Regions from separate parts of the Homo sapiens genome. Here region 2 is linked to region 1. The links are contacts of gene promoters, found by promoter capture Hi-C in blood cells and fetal thymus (Javierre and others, 2016). All regions are on one chromosome and are shown on one strand. Each heading gives the region's core, a stretch centred on a gene start or on the middle of the fragment in contact. The rest is flanking DNA. Distances are from core to core; before and after follow the strand shown.

Region 1 (4,363 bases), core at 954-3,453:
GTCTCAGTCAGGGCTGCAGCTTCATAAATAAAGGGTGAGAGGAAATAAATTAAGGAAGGAGTAGGGCTCAGCGCATAAATAAGGTGTGGGGTGTCAGGTGGACTCAGGGTGGGTTGACGTTCTCAGACACAGGTTCCCATCGGCCACATATTTGAGGTCTCGCGTGAGGAGGCGGAAGAGGTTGAAGGTGACAGATGCCTCCAGGCAGCCAGCGGACTCCTGTAGGGGAGGAGGGGATGGGTCAGGGGCTGTCCAGGGTCTGGGCTCCTATTGGCTCCCCAGACCCTGGTCCTTCTCTTCCTGGGTCACTCACCTTTTTGGGGGCCTCCTGGAGCCGGTGCAGCCAGTGGTGGAGGCGGCCCCGGGGCCTGGGCCCTGCTGTGGGCTGAGGCTGGATCTGTGGGCAGAAGAGGGCGGTGTGTGAGGCGGAGCCTGGGCCACCACAGGGGAAGGATGCTGCTCAGAGCCCACAGACCTGGGTGCCCGGGCCCCAAGGACTCACACAGGCCTGGAGCTGGGAGAGGATGTGGTGCAGGGTGTGAAGGGGCTGGTCTAGGACGTCCTCCAGGGCTGGGCCAGCAGCGGCCTCCAGGACCTTCAGCGTCAGGGCCAGCTCAGCCTCCAAGGCCACAGGGCGCTCCCTCACCTGAGGAGAGGTGAGAAAGAGCAGGTGAGGGAGAACAGGCAAGAAGACCCAGTTAGTGGGGACAGGTAGGCAGTCCTGGGGAAGGTCGGTGACACAGTGCATGTGGTGGGGACAGGTGAGGGGTCTGGGGAGAAGGAGACAGGAGGGGGAAGACATGAGGAAGGATACAGGTGAGGCAGGATGGTCAAGGAGGCAGGTGAGGGGATAAGTGAAATGGAGACAAATGAAAGGGGACTTACGGGGGTCACAGAAGTTCTCTGGGGCGGGGTGGGGACGGGTGAGGAGAAAGCAGGTTGGGGGCACAGTAAGAGAGGGACAGTTGCATGCACAGAGAAGAAGGGTAGGGCTGGGTGTGGTGGCTCACGCCTGTAATCCCAGCACTTTGGGAGGCCGAGGCGGGTGGATCACCTGAGGTCAGGATTTCGAGACCAAGCCTGGCCAACATAGTGAAACCCCGTCTCTGCTAAAAATACAAAAATTAGCTGGGCATCATGGCACATGCCTGTAATCCCAGCTACTCGGGAGGCTGAGGCAGGATAATTGCTTGAACCCGGGAGGCAGAGGTTGCAGTGAACCGAGATCATGCCACTGCACTCCAGCCTGGGCCATAGAGCAAGACTCTGTCTCAAAAAAAAAAAAAAAAAAAAAAAAAAGAGAAGGGTGGATGAGGGGGGAGCATGAGCTGGATGAATGTCAGTGAGAGATAATGAGGGACAGGTGACAGAGGCAGGTGAGAGGGAGAGGGGGTCAGTGTTGGGAACAGACAGGGAGAAGTGGAGCAGGACGAAAGGCACAGGTGGGCGACAGACTGGAGACATTTGGGAGAGAAATGAAGAGTGAGAGTGGAAGTGACAGGGACAGGTGAGCGAGCTAGGGAAGTGGGGCCGATGGGAGATGATAAAAGGGACCCAGGGGAAGGACAGAGTCAAGAGAGCAGTTTTGAAGTGGCAGGGGCACAGGACAGGTGAGGAGAGGTCCAAGAGAGTGAAGGACAAGGGAAACAAAGAAGGCTAAGGGGCCACTTAAGAAGAGGGGGGAGAGGGTCAAGGGAAGGGTGAAGGGGGCCTGACTTTCAGCTCACCTGGAGAAGCCTCAGGTCCCAATTCCCGGGGAAGACAGGAGAGCTGCAACTCCAGTTTTTCAGCTTGAGTGACTCTTCCTAGAGAGCAAGGGCAGGGGTTAGCCCACAGCAGGATGGCTGGAAGCTAGCTCATAGCAGCAAGGATGAAGTTGGCCTGACAGCATGGGTTTAACCCAGTGCAGAAAGGATAGAGGTTTGCCATAGTTGGAAGGCTAGAGGCTAGCCCACAGTAGAAGGGCAGTAATTGGGACACCCGTAGAAGTGGTTCATCCACAGCAACAGGAACTCACCAAGGCGTCCCTGGCCTTCTTGAAGCTCGCTAGCTCCTGTGGTGACAGAGATTTGAACCTGCCAATGTGGCAGCCCTTCCCAGTTGTGGTGGGCTTGGAAGTGGGGACAGGGCCTGCCACGGCCAAGCCTAGCACCAAAGTCACCAGCACCACGGTCCAAGCTGCAGCCATGGCTAAATCGCAACTGCTTCCCCAGCGGCATGGCTCTGCTTTTTAGCCACGCAAAATGGGCAATCCAAGATGATGTGTGTAAAGTGAAAAGGTAATTGGAAATGAGAATTTCCACTTTGACTTAAGAGGCATGAGTGGGCGGGGCCCGTCTGGGAGCCTGATGAGGGAACAGGTGTGGGCAGGGCCAAGTGAGCTGGGAGCTGCATCAAGAAGGAAAGAGAAACTGAAATCCTTAGAACTCCCTGGGCAGCTTTCAGCCAACTGGCCTCAGGGAGTCCCTGACGGAGGCTGAGATTAGGGATAAGGCTACCTGAGTGGCAGAGAGGAAGCTTCTTTTTTATTCTAAATTAGCCAGGTGTGGTGGCATGCGCCTGTGGTCTCAGCTACTCAGGAGGCCGAGGCATGAGAATCACTTGAACCCGGGAGGCGGAGGTTGCAGTGAGCCAAGATCGTGCCACTGCACTCCAGCCTGGGTGATGGAGTGAGATCCTGTTTCAAAAAAAAAAAAGCTTGTTTTTTATTTTATTGTTATTATTATTTTTTGAGACGTAGTTTTGCTCTTGTTGCCCAGGCTGGAGTGCAATGGTGCAATCTTGGCTCACTGCAACTTCTGCCTCCCGAGTTGAAGCGATTCTCCTGCCTCAGCCTCCTAAGTAGTTGGGATTACAGGTGCATGCCATCACGCCTGGCTAGTTTTTGTATTTTTAGTAGAGACTGGGTTTTACTATGTTGGTCACGCTGGCTTCGAACTCCTGACTTCAGATGATCTGCCTGCCTTGGCCTCCCAAAGTGCTGGGATTACAGGCGTGAGCCACCACCTTACTTTATTATTTATTTATTTATTTTTGTAGAGATAGGGGTCTCACTATGTTGCCCAGGCCAGTCTTGAACTCCTGGCCTTAAGCCATCCTCCTGCTTCAGCCTCGCAAAGTGCTAGTATTAAAGGCATGAGCCACTGCTCCTGGCCAAGAAGGAGCTTCTGCCATTGGTTTAAGAATGTCCCATTAACTAATTTCAGTTCATGCTCCTAATGTTTCTCTGAGTAGTTATTTTTATAATTGTGATGGTTAATTTTAGGTGTCACCTTGACTGGTTAAGTTTATCAGATAGCTGGTGATGCGTTAATTCTGGGTATGACTCTGGGGTGTTTCCAGAAGAGATTGGCATTTGAATCAATGGACTGAGTAAGGAAGACCCGTTGTTACCCAATGTGGTGGGCACCATCCAATTGGCCGAGGGCCTGAATAGAACAAAAAGGCAGAGGAAAGGAGAATTTGCTCTCTCTTATGAGCTGGGACACCCTGCACCTGCCCTTAAACATCAGAACTCCAGGCTCTTTGGTCTTTGAATGCTGGGATGTGCAGCTGGGCATGGTGGCTCACGCCTGTAATCCCAGCAGTTTGGGAGGCTGAGGCAGGTGAATCACTTGAGGTCAGGAGTTCGAGACCAGCCTGGCCAACATGGTGAAACCCCATCTCTACTAAAAATATAAAAATCAGCCAGGCGTGGTGGCACAGGCCTGTAGTCCCAGCTACTTGGGAGGCTGAGGCAGGAGTATCGCTTGAACCCTGGAGGCGGAGGCTGCAGTGAGCTGAGATCATGTCACTGCACTCCAGCCTGGTCAACAGAGTGAGACTCCATCTCAGAAAAAAAAAAAATGCTGGGACTTGCACTAGCTACCCCCTAAGTCCTGAGGCTTTTATTCTGGAACTGAGCTGCACTACAAGCTTCCCTGGTTCTCCAGCTTGCAGATGGCCTGTTGTGGAACTTCTTAGCCTCCCTAATTGTCTGAGCCAATTCCCCTAATAAATCCCCTCCTATCTCTCTCTCATCTATCTAGTCTCTCTCTCTCTCTCTCTCTCTCTCTCTCTCTATCTAGTCTATCTCTCTCATCTATCTAGTCTATATCTCTCTATCTATCATCTATTTATCCAAACATCCTATTTGTTCTGTCTCTCTGGAGAACCCTGACTAATACAATAATCATGCCCATTTTACTAGTGAGATAACTGAGGCATAGGAAGGCAAAGTGACTTGCCTAAGGTCCCACAGTGGGATAGAGGCAGAAATGGGGTATGATGAGTCCTATGTACTTGCTCCCTATTCCATATGCAGCCCAGGTAGAAGATGAGAACCTCTGGGGGTAGCAGGCCCACTTCTCCTTTCTGTCCCTCT
Region 2 (4,363 bases), core at 1,001-3,500, 190 kb after region 1:
CTTTGCACTGGCTGTTCCTCTGCCTGGAATGCTCTTCCCCCAGATGTCTGCCCACTTGGCTCCTTCCCCACCTCCTTCAGATCAAATGTTGCCCTCTCAGTGAGATCCCCCTGAAAATTGAAACTGCTCTCTCACCGTCCCTGCGTTTTCTACTCACAAATCGCTATTTAACCAACTCATTTATCGTGATTTTTGTCCAACTCTCTGGTTAGGATGTCAGCTCTGTGAGGGCCGAGATCTCTGTCTCATTCACAGCTGTCTCTCCAGCACTGAGAACAGAGCCTGGCACATGGTAGATGCTCAATAAATTATGATTCAATAAATAAAAGAAGGGAAAGAAAGGAAGGAAAGAGGGAAGGAACTGGCAAGTCTGTGGCTCTTGCGGTTTGTCATCTGTCCTAGCTAGGAGGCAAGAGTGTTAACACGTCTCCTCTTCCCGAATAAGATGGTGCCAGGCTGGGAAACTGAGGCATGAAGGGACTCTTCATAGCAGTCCTGGAGCAGTGAAGAAGGAGCCAGGCTTCAGACCAACTCTCAGTGCCGGGCTCAGAAGAAAAAGCCCCTGACGCCACCTGCTGGTGAGTAGTGTCATGACGGTTGTGCCCACCTGGCGATGCCCTTGCCAGGTGGGCAGGAGAGGAGGAAGCCCAGCGGCATCCCCCGCAGATGTGCAGAATCCATGGAGCCAGAGCTTAAGCCTCTTCATTCCTGAAGCCCCGTGGGCACCTCGCCCGATCAGAGCTATGCAGGAGGGTGGGGCCCTGCCAGCAGAAACCTGCCGTGTGTCACTCTGTGCCCGCACACCTGCCCTCCCTCCACAGCCAGCCAGGACTCCCACCTCTCCAGGAGGGAACAGCTGCCCCAGCTCCATAGGGCTGCATGTACCCTACATGGGGCCTCTGGAGGGCAGGGGAGTCAGGGCCCACCCAACTCCCCACCCAGGCCTGGGCAGTTTCTGGTCACAGCAGCCAAGGCGGCAAAACCTAGGCTTCTGGAGGAGAGCTGCCGCCATCCCTAGAGGTACATCCTCCGGCCAAACAGGGGTCTCACCACCCAGACATCATCTACGATCTTCCCATCCTGTGAGGGACAAAAACAGGGACAGTAGTTAGAGCTGAAAGCCTGAACTCTGGGGCCACATGGCCTGGGTTCCAGTCCCCTCTCTGCCCTCTGATGGGCTGTACAACCCTGAGCAAGTGGCTAGGCCTCTCTGGGCCTCAGTTTTCCTCATCTGAAAAGTGATAGGAAGAGTAACAGTACCCACATCATAGATGTTGTGGGAGTTAAATGAGATAGTATTTGTAAACAGAGCCCAGCATATGGAAAGGGCTATGTAAGTGTAGGCTATTATTAGAGCACAAACTCTGGAGTCAGACAGACCTTGCTTTATATTCCAGCACATCCACTCTTTCTCTCTCTCTCCTTTTTTTTTTTTTTTTTTTTTTTTAGACAGAGTCTTGCTCTGTCACCCAGGCTGGAGTGCAGTGGCAACCTCCGCTTCCCAGGTTCAAGCCATTCTCCTGCCCCAGCCTCCCAAGTAGCTGGGATTACAGGCATGCACCACCATGCCTGGCTAATTTTTGTATTTTTACTAGAGACAAGGTTTCACCATGTTGGCCAGGCTGGTCTCGAACTCCTGACCTCAAGTGATCCGCCTGCCTCAGCCTCCCAAAGGCATGAGCTGCTGCACCTGGCCAGCGCATCCACCCTCTAGGTGGCCTTAAGCATGTTGCTGGACTCTCTGAGCAAAACTTCCATGTTCTATGCAATGCACAAAGTAATAGATGCCCAGAGTCATCATGAGAACAGAGTGAGATCATGCACACAAAAGTCTGCGCCCGGTGCATGTGCCACTCGATAAATGGTAGCTATCAGATCCCAGCTTGGCCGTCCTCCAACTGTGTGACCCTGGGAAAATTACTTCCCCTCTCTGAGCCTCAGTTCCCTCACCTATAAAATGGAGAGGAAATCCACTCCTGTGGGATTGTTTTGGTGTATAAAGTGCTACTGGGGCCGCATGCGGTGGCTCATGCCTGTAATCCCAGCACTTTGGGAGGCCCAGGTGGGTGGATCACCTGAGGTCAGGAGTTCAAGACCAGCCTGGCTAACATGGTGAAACCCCATCTCTACTAAAAATACAAAAAATTAGCCGGGTGTGGTGGCATGTGCCTGTAATCCCAGCTACTCGGGAGGCTGAGGCAGGAGAATTGCTTGAACCTGGGAGGTGGAGGTTGCAGTGAGCTTAGATTGCACCACTGCACTCTAGCCTGGGCGACAGGGTGAAACTCTGTCTCAAAAACAAATAAATAAATAAAGTGCTACTAAATGCAGAGCATCTAGGCAGTGCCTGGTATGCAGTAGGTGCTCAATAAATCATAAATATTGTCATTATTTTAAAACTACAATGGCAAAAATAAAGAAAGGTGAGCCATTATTATTTGGATCCACCTAACCTTAAGCCACCTGTACCACATACTCATCTTATTGTTTTCCCCTACCTGTGTCCCACCCCCCATCTTTATCTTCCCCTGCCTCACAATGGTAAATACCTACAGAATTTACCAAGTTCCGCACTCTTCTAAGCATTTTATATATAATAAGTCCTTCAACCCCCATGTAGTCCTGTGAGGTGGAAACTATGATTATCCCCTCTCACAGATGGGAAAACTGAGGCAAAGAAGTTAGATAAGTGGGCCCAGCACAGTGGCTCACACCTGTAATCCCAGCACTTTGGGAGGTTGAGGCAGGCAGATCACCTGATGTCAGGAGTTCGAGACCATTCTGGCCAACACAGTGAAACCCTGTCTCTACTAAAAATACAAAAAATTAGCCGGGTGTGGTGGTGGGCGCCTGTGATCCCAGCTACTCGGGAGGCTGAGGTAGGAGAATTGCCTGAACCTGGGAGGTGGCGGTTGCAGTAAACCAAGACTGCACCACTGCATTCCAGCCTGGGTGACAGAGCGAGACTCCATCTCAAAAAAAAAAAAAAAAAATTAGATGAGTGACTCAAGGTCACTCAGCTGGTAAGCAGCAGGAGCAGGTTTCTAGTTCTACAGTCCACATTTGTTCGTTTTTTTGTTTTGAGTTAGGGTCTCACTCTGTTGCCAAGGCTGGAGTACAGAGGCGAGATCATAGCTCACTGCAAACTCTAACTCCTGCACTCAAGTGATCCTCCTGCCTCAGCCTCCCAAGTAGCTGGGACTACAGACATCTGCCACCACACTTGACTAATTTTCCTTTTTTTTCCAAGACAGAGTCTCACTCTGTCTCCCAGGCTGGAGGGCAGTGGTGCCATCTTGGGTCACTGCAAACTTCACCTCCCAGATTTAAGTGATTCTCCTGCCTCAACCTCCCTTGTAGCTGGGATTACAGGCACCCGCCACCATGGCCAGCTCATTTTTGTATTTTTAGTAGAGACGGGGTTTCACCATGTTGGCCAGGCTGGTCTCTAACTCCTGACTTCAAGTGATCTGCCCACCTCAGCCTCCCAAAGTGCTGGGATTTCAGGTATGAACCACCGCACCTGGCCTAATTTTTTTTTTTTTTTTTTTTTTGAGACAGAGTCTTGCTCAGTCGCCCAGGCTGGAGTGGTGCGATCTCGGCTCACTGCAAGCTCTGCCTCCCGGGTTCACGCCATTCTCCTGCCTCAGCCTCCCGAGTAGCTGGGACTATAGGCACCTGCCACCACGCCTGGCTAATTTTTTTTGTATTTTTAGTAGAGAAGGGGTTTCACCATGTTAGCCAGGATGGTCTCGATCTCCTGACCTTGTGATCCGCCTGCCTCGGCTTCCCAAAGTGCTGGAATTACAGGCATGAGCCACCGTGCCTGGCCATTTTTTGTATTTTTTGTAGAGACTAGGTCTCACCATGGTACCCAGGCTGGTCTTGAACTCCTGGACTCAAGCGATCCTCATACCTTAGCCCCACCAAATTGCAGGTGTTGCAGGCATGAGCCACTGCGCCCGGCCGAGCCCACGTTTTTAACAGCTCATTTGCTTGGAGGGGCCTGGCTGTACAGTCAGGTGACTTCGGCCTGCCCCTCACTGACCTGGTCGTCCGACACCTGCTGGATGTGGATGTGGGTCCCGTTGAGGATGTGCAGCCGCGTATACCCGTACTCCTTCACACGCACGGCACTCCAGGGCCTCGGGAAGACAGCAAAGGGCGTCAGCCGCTCCTCACAGCCCTGGGGCGGGGAGAACTGATCAGACCCAGAGCAGGTGGAGGACCCGCGGGGAAGCAGAAATGACCTGCTAGCCCAGGACCCTGCTGCCCTCAAGGAAGACAGTGAAGACTTGACCACCATAGAGGCCGGGCGCAGTGGCTCATGCCTGTAATTCCAGCACTTTGGGAGGCCAAGAAG

What was found. The method cuts DNA at HindIII sites, captures the fragments that hold promoters and counts their contacts. A CHiCAGO score of 5 or more calls a contact.
Region 2: a contact is called between a fragment that was not itself captured here and the fragment with the promoter of IFNL1 in region 1, in 1 of 17 cell types (endothelial precursors). The highest score is 5.8, in endothelial precursors.

Annotation. Positions count from the first base shown.
Region 1 is chr19:39,294,247-39,298,609 of GRCh38, reverse strand. It overlaps IFNL1 (interferon lambda 1), which reads right to left and starts at 2,203. Exons shown (of 5, transcript NM_172140.2): 1 at 2,018-2,203; 2 at 1,728-1,805; 3 at 503-646; 4 at 314-397; 5 at 1-219. The coding sequence starts at 2,188. The coding sequence ends at 94. The HindIII fragment of the contact is 6,887 bases long and covers 1-2,519 here.
Region 2 is chr19:39,106,770-39,111,132 of GRCh38, reverse strand. ACP7 (acid phosphatase 7, tartrate resistant (putative)) reads right to left here. Exons shown (of 13, transcript NM_001004318.3): 12 at 4,049-4,186; 13 at 1-1,080. The coding sequence ends at 1,015. Among named protein-coding and RNA genes, the nearest start is that of PAK4, 17 kb to the left of the region's middle. RefSeq lists an enhancer at 630-699. The HindIII fragment of the contact is 5,363 bases long and covers 1-4,363 here.